2 separate regions of the Homo sapiens genome follow, and region 2 is linked to region 1. The links are contacts of gene promoters, found by promoter capture Hi-C in blood cells and fetal thymus (Javierre and others, 2016). All regions are on one chromosome and are shown on one strand. Each heading gives the region's core, a stretch centred on a gene start or on the middle of the fragment in contact. The rest is flanking DNA. Distances are from core to core; before and after follow the strand shown. Region 1 holds the start of SOST (sclerostin). Region 2 has its middle 37 kb from the start of SOST.

Evidence for each region. Contacts are between HindIII fragments. The CHiCAGO score rates a contact against its expected background, and 5 or more counts as called.
Region 2: a contact is called between a fragment that was not itself captured here and the fragment with the promoter of SOST in region 1, in 2 of 17 cell types (megakaryocytes and endothelial precursors). The highest score is 6.5, in megakaryocytes.

Annotation. Positions count from the first base shown.
Region 1 is chr17:43,757,489-43,761,172 of GRCh38, reverse strand. SOST (sclerostin) reads left to right here and starts at 2,382. Exons shown (of 2, transcript NM_025237.3): 1 at 2,382-2,651. The coding sequence starts at 2,432. RefSeq lists a silencer at 438-732. The HindIII fragment of the contact is 6,420 bases long and covers 1,414-3,684 here.
Region 2 is chr17:43,719,625-43,723,424 of GRCh38, reverse strand. It overlaps the pseudogene WHSC1L2P. Among named protein-coding and RNA genes, the nearest start is that of SOST, 37 kb to the left of the region's middle. RefSeq lists silencers at 2,402-2,461, 2,612-2,721, 2,752-2,821. The HindIII fragment of the contact is 2,610 bases long and covers 548-3,157 here.

The DNA.
Region 1 (3,684 bases), core at 1,133-3,632:
ACCCCCGTCTCTACTAAAAATACAAAATTGGCCGGGCGTGGTGGTGCATTCCTGTAATCCCAGCTACTCGGGAGGCTGAGGCAGGAGAATTGCTTGAACCCAGGAGGTGGAGGTTGCAGTGAGCCAAGATTGTGCCACTGCACTGCAGCCTGGGCCACAGAGAGAATCTGCCAAAAAAAGAAAAAAAAAAAAATTTCAGCCGTACAAGGATGTTCATAGCAACCCTGCTGGAAATAGGAAAAAAAATTGGAAATAACCTAAACTACTCACAATAGGAATCAGCTAAAACCCTGGGGGTTTAATTCCAGGGAGTACTGTGAACAATGACAAGTTTGTGGACTGAGTAAAAATAAACAGCTGTCAATGACTTAACATTAAATGAAACAGCAGAAGATGTCACAGCAGGTTCTCGCTGAGCCATTCAGAGGGGTGTGGATCATTTAGAGGTTCAAGTCCACTGGATTCTTCTTTTTCCTTTTAATATTACTTCACTTCCAAATAAGGAAAGGAAAGGAAAGGAAATCACGTCCAGTCCTGAGACTTGCCATCCTGCAGTCACCCCTCCTTTTGTCTCCAGCAGGTGGCAGACGCGTTCCAGGGATGAATCCCACTGCCTCTGTTTAATGCAGACGGTCCAGCCGCTCCCAACAGCAGGTGGGGCTATAAGCATCCATCCTACCTGCTCAAGGAACCCAGGCATCAGAACTGCTCTCTCCCAAGTCCATTGCAAGAAGGCAGTCGTCTGGTCATGAGAGGGTTAACAGTCCACATTCCAGAGCAAGGGAAAAGGAGGCTGGAGGGTCATAGACAAGGGGAGGTGGCGCGGAGGGCCAGCTTCTCACAACACTACCGGCTCTGCTGGGAGAGATAGATCACCCCCAACAATGGCCACAGCTGTTTTCATCTGCCCTGAAGGAAACTGACTTAGGAAGCAGGTATCAGAGAGGGCCCTTCCTGAGGGGGCTTCTGTCTGGCTTGTAAAACTGTCAGAGCAGCTGCATTCATGTGTCGGATGATGGATGATGGAAAGGAGGACAGTCGGCTGCAGATGGACACAGCGACTTGCAAGTTGAGGCAGGTGGCAAAGGACTTGCAGAGGCTCTGCAGGTGGGGCATGCTGATTCATTGCCCAGTTAAAATACCAGAGGATCTGGGCAGCCTCTTCACAGGAGCTGCTTGTCCTCAAACAATCTGTCTTCAATGAAAGATTCCTCTGGCCTTCCTTTCTCTTCTTGCACCTCAGGTGTGAATCCTTCTCCCCCACGCCTCTACCTGCCCCCCCGCCCCCCGCCCCGGCCCTGTGTGGCTCATTATATGCAGGGCCAAGGCAGCATTTTCTCTTAGCTTCTTTGTGACCACTTGGTCCTGGGATGGCTTCATGGAACACATCCTGTGGTGTGCACCAATGAAGCTTTCCATACAGGACTCAAAACTGTTTTTGAAAAATGTAACCAGCTGGAAGACAAGAAAATAAAATGTCAGCACTAAAAACGCTGGCTGTGGCTTTTGCTAAGGAAAGGAATTTGGTGTTGTCTTCTCACACACACAGACTGGTTGGGGAAATGACTGTCTTCAGCACATCACCCTGCGAGCCACAGTGAGTGCCCTGGCTCAGAAGTGCCTGTCACAGTGCACAGGATCCCTGAGGAGCATGAGCTGGGATTTCCTCTGTGCTGTCCACCACAGGAGCCTGAGTGACCAGCGCATCCTCGATTTGTAACCAGAATCCTGCCCTCTCTCCCAAGCGGGCACCCTTGCTCTGACCCTCTAGTTCTCTCTCTTGCCTTCCAGAGAATACCAAGAGAGGCTTTCTTGGTTAGGACAATGAATGCTGAGACTTGTGGAGTTGGGACCAATGGGATTTCTTTAAAAGCATCTTTTTGCCTCTGGCTGGGTCTATGGGGGTCAAACAGAAACGCCTTGGGCCATTTGTTGGTGGGGTGACAAATGAACTTGGCCTGAGAAATGGAATAGGCCGGGCTCAGCCCCGCGAAGCACTCAGAACTGCACATTTTCTTTGTTGAGCGGGTCCACAGTTTGTTTTGAGAATGCCCGAGGGCCCAGGGAGACAGACAATTAAAAGCCGGAGCTCATTTTGATATCTGAAAACCACAGCCGCCAGCACGTGGGAGGTGCCGGAGAGCAGGCTTGGGCCTTGCCTCACACGCCCCCTCTCTCTGGGTCACCTGGGAGTGCCAGCAGCAATTTGGAAGTTTGCTGAGCTAGAGGAGAAGTCTTTGGGGAGGGTTTGCTCTGAGCACACCCCTTTCCCTCCCTCCGGGGCTGAGGGAAACATGGGACCAGCCCTGCCCCAGCCTGTCCTCATTGGCTGGCATGAAGCAGAGAGGGGCTTTAAAAAGGCGACCGTGTCTCGGCTGGAGACCAGAGCCTGTGCTACTGGAAGGTGGCGTGCCCTCCTCTGGCTGGTACCATGCAGCTCCCACTGGCCCTGTGTCTCGTCTGCCTGCTGGTACACACAGCCTTCCGTGTAGTGGAGGGCCAGGGGTGGCAGGCGTTCAAGAATGATGCCACGGAAATCATCCCCGAGCTCGGAGAGTACCCCGAGCCTCCACCGGAGCTGGAGAACAACAAGACCATGAACCGGGCGGAGAACGGAGGGCGGCCTCCCCACCACCCCTTTGAGACCAAAGGTATGGGGTGGAGGAGAGAATTCTTAGTAAAAGATCCTGGGGAGGTTTTAGAAACTTCTCTTTGGGAGGCTTGGAAGACTGGGGTAGACCCAGTGAAGATTGCTGGCCTCTGCCAGCACTGGTCGAGGAACAGTCTTGCCTGGAGGTGGGGGAAGAATGGCTCGCTGGTGCAGCCTTCAAATTCAGGTGCAGAGGCATGAGGCAACAGACGCTGGTGAGAGCCCAGGGCAGGGAGGACGCTGGGGTGGTGAGGGTATGGCATCAGGGCATCAGAACAGGCTCAGGGGCTCAGAAAAGAAAAGGTTTCAAAGAATCTCCTCCTGGGAATATAGGAGCCACGTCCAGCTGCTGGTACCACTGGGAAGGGAACAAGGTAAGGGAGCCTCCCATCCACAGAACAGCACCTGTGGGGCACCGGACACTCTATGCTGGTGGTGGCTGTCCCCACCACACAGACCCACATCATGGAATCCCCAGGAGGTGAACCCCCAGCTCGAAGGGGAAGAAACAGGTTCCAGGCACTCAGTAACTTGGTAGTGAGAAGAGCTGAGGTGTGAACCTGGTTTGATCCAACTGCAAGATAGCCCTGGTGTGTGGGGGGGTGTGGGGGACAGATCTCCACAAAGCAGTGGGGAGGAAGGCCAGAGAGGCACCCCTGCAGTGTGCATTGCCCACGGCCTGCCCAGGGAGCTGGCACTTGAAGGAATGGGAGTTTTCGGCACAGTTTTAGCCCCTGACATGGGTGCAGCTGAGTCCAGGCCCTGGAGGGGAGAGCAGCATCCTCTGTGCAGGAGTAGGGACATCTGTCCTCAGCAGCCACCCCAGTCCCAACCTTGCCTCATTCCAGGGGAGGGAGAAGGAAGAGGAACCCTGGGTTCCTGGTCAGGCCTGCACAGAGAAGCCCAGGTGACAGTGTGCATCTGGCTCTATAATTGGCAGGAATCCTGAGGCCATGGGGGCGTCTGAAATGACACTTCAGACTAAGAGCTTCCCTGTCCTCTGGCCATTATCCAGGTGGCAGAGAAGTCCACTG
Region 2 (3,800 bases), core at 603-3,102, 37 kb after region 1:
CCGCAACAGGCCATCATCAACTTAATTCTAAGGCATTTCCCACCCCCACCCTCATTCCCTGAACTCCCATCCTCCTTTGATCCTCAGTCAAGGCCAACTTCGAAAACTCCTTGGTAATCAGCTGGGAGCTTGCAGGGCCCAGACCTTCAGCAGCTTGTGGGAATGTCCCATGAGGAACTTTTTTTTTGTCAAAAGAATGCCAGGAGTTTAATTACTGTGTGGCCCATGGAGGTGATTTCCATTTATCAGCCAGAACCCAGACAGATCCTAGGAAGGCCCATCATGTGAGGCTGTGGCCGCCGTGGCCTGCTCTCTCCAGCAAAGGATAACCCTGGGGCCTGTGCCCTGGGCAGGGGCAGCAGGAATGCTTTGAATGCTTCCCCTGCATGTGGCCTTGGGTTTTACCAATGGCTACAGCGGGTGGTTTAATTAATAAATGTCCACTGCTTGTCATTTATCATTAGCAAAACAGGAGGGGTTGGAGGTGGGGGCAGCCAAGAGGGCAGGGAAGCTTTCTCCAAACAAGGTGCACCGATAAATTAAAGCTTTATCCATCAGTCTCACAGGCTGGCTGCTGTTGTACAGCCCCACGTTACTTTCCTCTGGTTCAGAGGCCAATCTCATGTTTCTGAAGGGCTTTGCAGCAGCTGTAGGGGGTTTCATCTATGACTGTGTTTCCCTTGTCAAATCTCAGCAAAGGACTGTGTTGCATGGTATGGAGGAGAGAGAGCAGCATGTGCCCAGGGGACTGGTTCCCATCGGGGTCTCAAACTGAAACTCTATGGTGGATCCAGCCTGAGGCTAGATTTTTGTTTGGCTACAATGGCATTTGACAAATTGGAAATTTTTACATAAAAATTCAAGTTTCTGGCTTCTATTGAAAAAGCAAGGCGAGGCAAAACCAAACCCTCTTTTTCAGTATGGCAACAAGCAGCTGATGGCCAGCTTAGGCAGGCAGGGCAGCCATGTGAGGTTGTGTGAGTTGTGCACTGCACAAAAGCACCTAGCAGAAGGTGCAAATGGAGGCTGAATCCAGGCCAGGCTGTCTTTCCAGCAGAAGCCCTGTAGGCAGGATGCAGGCCTTCCACTTCCCCACCACCGCTGACAATCCCTGCTACTTTACTCACCTACTCCATTCATTTACGTTACCTATCTGAGCTTGGTAAGCACTTGGTGTTTTCATTCCTAGTATACAATCAGGGCACTATTTCGTCTTCTCTATGTGAGAAATGCCTCTTCAACCTTCAAGGCTCAGCTCAACTCATAGAAGCTCCCTGGTGGTACCCTCCTCTGTATTTTCTCAACAGCAACCCACACTGCTATTATAGCACTCGGCACACCCTTGTGCTCTAATTTGTTAGCGGATCCTGTTTCCTGCAGACTTTGAGCCCCTTGAAGATAGATCCTACCATTTCTACTTTTCCTCTGCCTGGCACATAATGGGCACTAAATCAGTAGGGCTGAATGAATGGGTTTATGGCCAAGTGTGCCCCAGGCAAGGGAGGCCTCCAAGAGGCTGCCTAAAATCCTAAGCCAGGAAGGTCAGGAAAGGGTGATAAAAGGTTTTAACTTTGGGGTTTTGAAAGACCCTAGACTCCTAGGTTTCTTCTCTTGGACACTCTATGGGGCACTTAAAATCCTGAGTCATGCTGATTTTGGGATTTCCTCTGACCAGAAAGCTGAGTGTTTAAGACTTTTCACATTCGCTTGTTTTGTTGCAAGGAGCTAGTAAGAGCTCAGCCTGGCCTCTCCCAAAACCACTCATAAAGGAGCAGCAGACATGGTGCAGCCAACAGAGACTTCAGGGAACAAGGATGGCTGTGACTTGTGCAGAGCAATTCTGGGATCCTGGAACCTGAAATACATCTCCTCCCCAGAAATTTAGCCTGAAATTTCTTTAACCAAGATCAAAAGGTGAACCTTGCTTCTAATAATCACAGAGGACTGAATGTGTTCTGCGAAGGAGAGCCACACTGGTCTAAATTATTTCCAACTAACGTGTAAATGACTGATAGAGGTTTTTGGTTTTTTTGTTTTGTTTTTGTTGATTTTTTTTTTTTCCTAAATGCTAGTTTGGTGAGAAGGTAAAAAGAGTTATAAAAGTGCAACACCAAGGCGGGTGGATCGCGAGGTCAGGAGTTCGATACCAGCCTGGCCAACATGGTGAAACCCCATCTCTACTAAAAGTACAAAGAATTAGCTGGGCGTGGAGGCGCGCCCCCGTAATCCCAGCTCCTCGGAGGCTGAAGCAGGAGAATCGCTTGAACCCGGGAGGCGGAGGTTGCAGCGAGCCGAGATCGCGCCATTGCACTCCAGCCTGGGTGACAGAGCGAGACTCCGTCTCAAAAAAAAAAAAAAAAAAAAAAAAAAAAAAAAAAGCAACAAGCCCTCTCGCCTAGTCTCTCCTTTGTCGTCCAGACCCTCGCGGCCGCGGGCGTTCGTGGTTCGTCCCCTCCGCCCCCTCCGTCCCCTCCGCCCTTTCCGCCGCGCTGACTCGCCGCTTCCTCCTGGGCTCCATCGCCCCAAACCCGGGACTGCACTTCCCGGCAGACGCCGCGGCCAATGAGGGAGGGGCTGAGGATTTGGCGGCGGCGGCGCCCCGAGAGTCGGGGTGACGGGGCTTTGTGCGCTGAGGCGGAGGCTGCCAGCACGGAGGCGGAGGCCCAGGGGCTGTGCACAGGTCACCGCGGAGAGACGTGCGATTTCCCAGCCGAGCGCCGAGGACCCTGCTGCCCAGGCCAGGCTGCCAGCCGTAGGCTCCTCTCTGGCGGCAGCGGGGGCGCGGCGACACCCGTCTCTCGGCCTCCCCTTCCCACCCCACCTCCGGAGCCTTCCTCCTGCCGCAGCACGCCTGGCCTGGTCCGGCTGTGGCCCTCCTCGATCTCCGTGTCCCTCCTGTGATCGCATTGAGACGGCCGGGCGGTTAGAACGGGACAAACTGAAGGCCCGATGAGAGAAAGGGAAAGTTAAGAATGCTGGAGCAGAACAATGGATTTCTCTTTCTCTTTCATGCAAGGGATCACGGGAAACACAGTTCAACAACCACCTCAACTCACTGACTCCGCCAGCATCCGTCAGGAGGATGCCTTTGATAACAAAATTGACATTGCTGAAGATGGTGGCCAGACACCATACGAAGCTACCTTGCAGCAAAGCTTTCAATACTCACCTACAACAGATCTTCCTCCACTCACAAATGGCTACCTGCCATCAATCAGCATGTATGAAATTCAAACCAAATACCAGTCGCATAATCAATATCCTAATGGGTCAGCCAATGACTTTGGCGCAGCTAGAAACTTTAGCCCCACTGACTATTACCATTCAGAAATTCTAAACAGAAGACCACATTAAATTCTAGAAAACCCTTCCCCTCCACAGCCACCACTTCGGTACCACAAACTGTGATTCCAAAGAAGAGTGGCTCACCTGAAGTTAAACTAAAAATAACCAAAACTATCCAGAATGGCAGGGAATTGTTCAAGTCTTCCCTTTGTGGAGACCTTTTAAATGAAGTACAGGCAAGTGAGCACACGAAGTCAAAGCATGAAAGCAGAAAAGAAAAGAGGAAAAAACCCAAAAAGCATGACTCATCAAGATCTGAAGAGCGCAAGTCACACAAAATCCCCAAATTAGAACCAGAGGAACAAAATAGACCAAATGAGAGGGTTCACACCATATCAGAAAAACCAAGGGAAGATCCAGTACTAAAAGAGGAAGCCCCAGTTCAGCCAATACTATCTTCTGTTCCAACAACAGAAGTGTCCACTGGTGTTAAGTTTCAAGTTGGTGATCTTGTG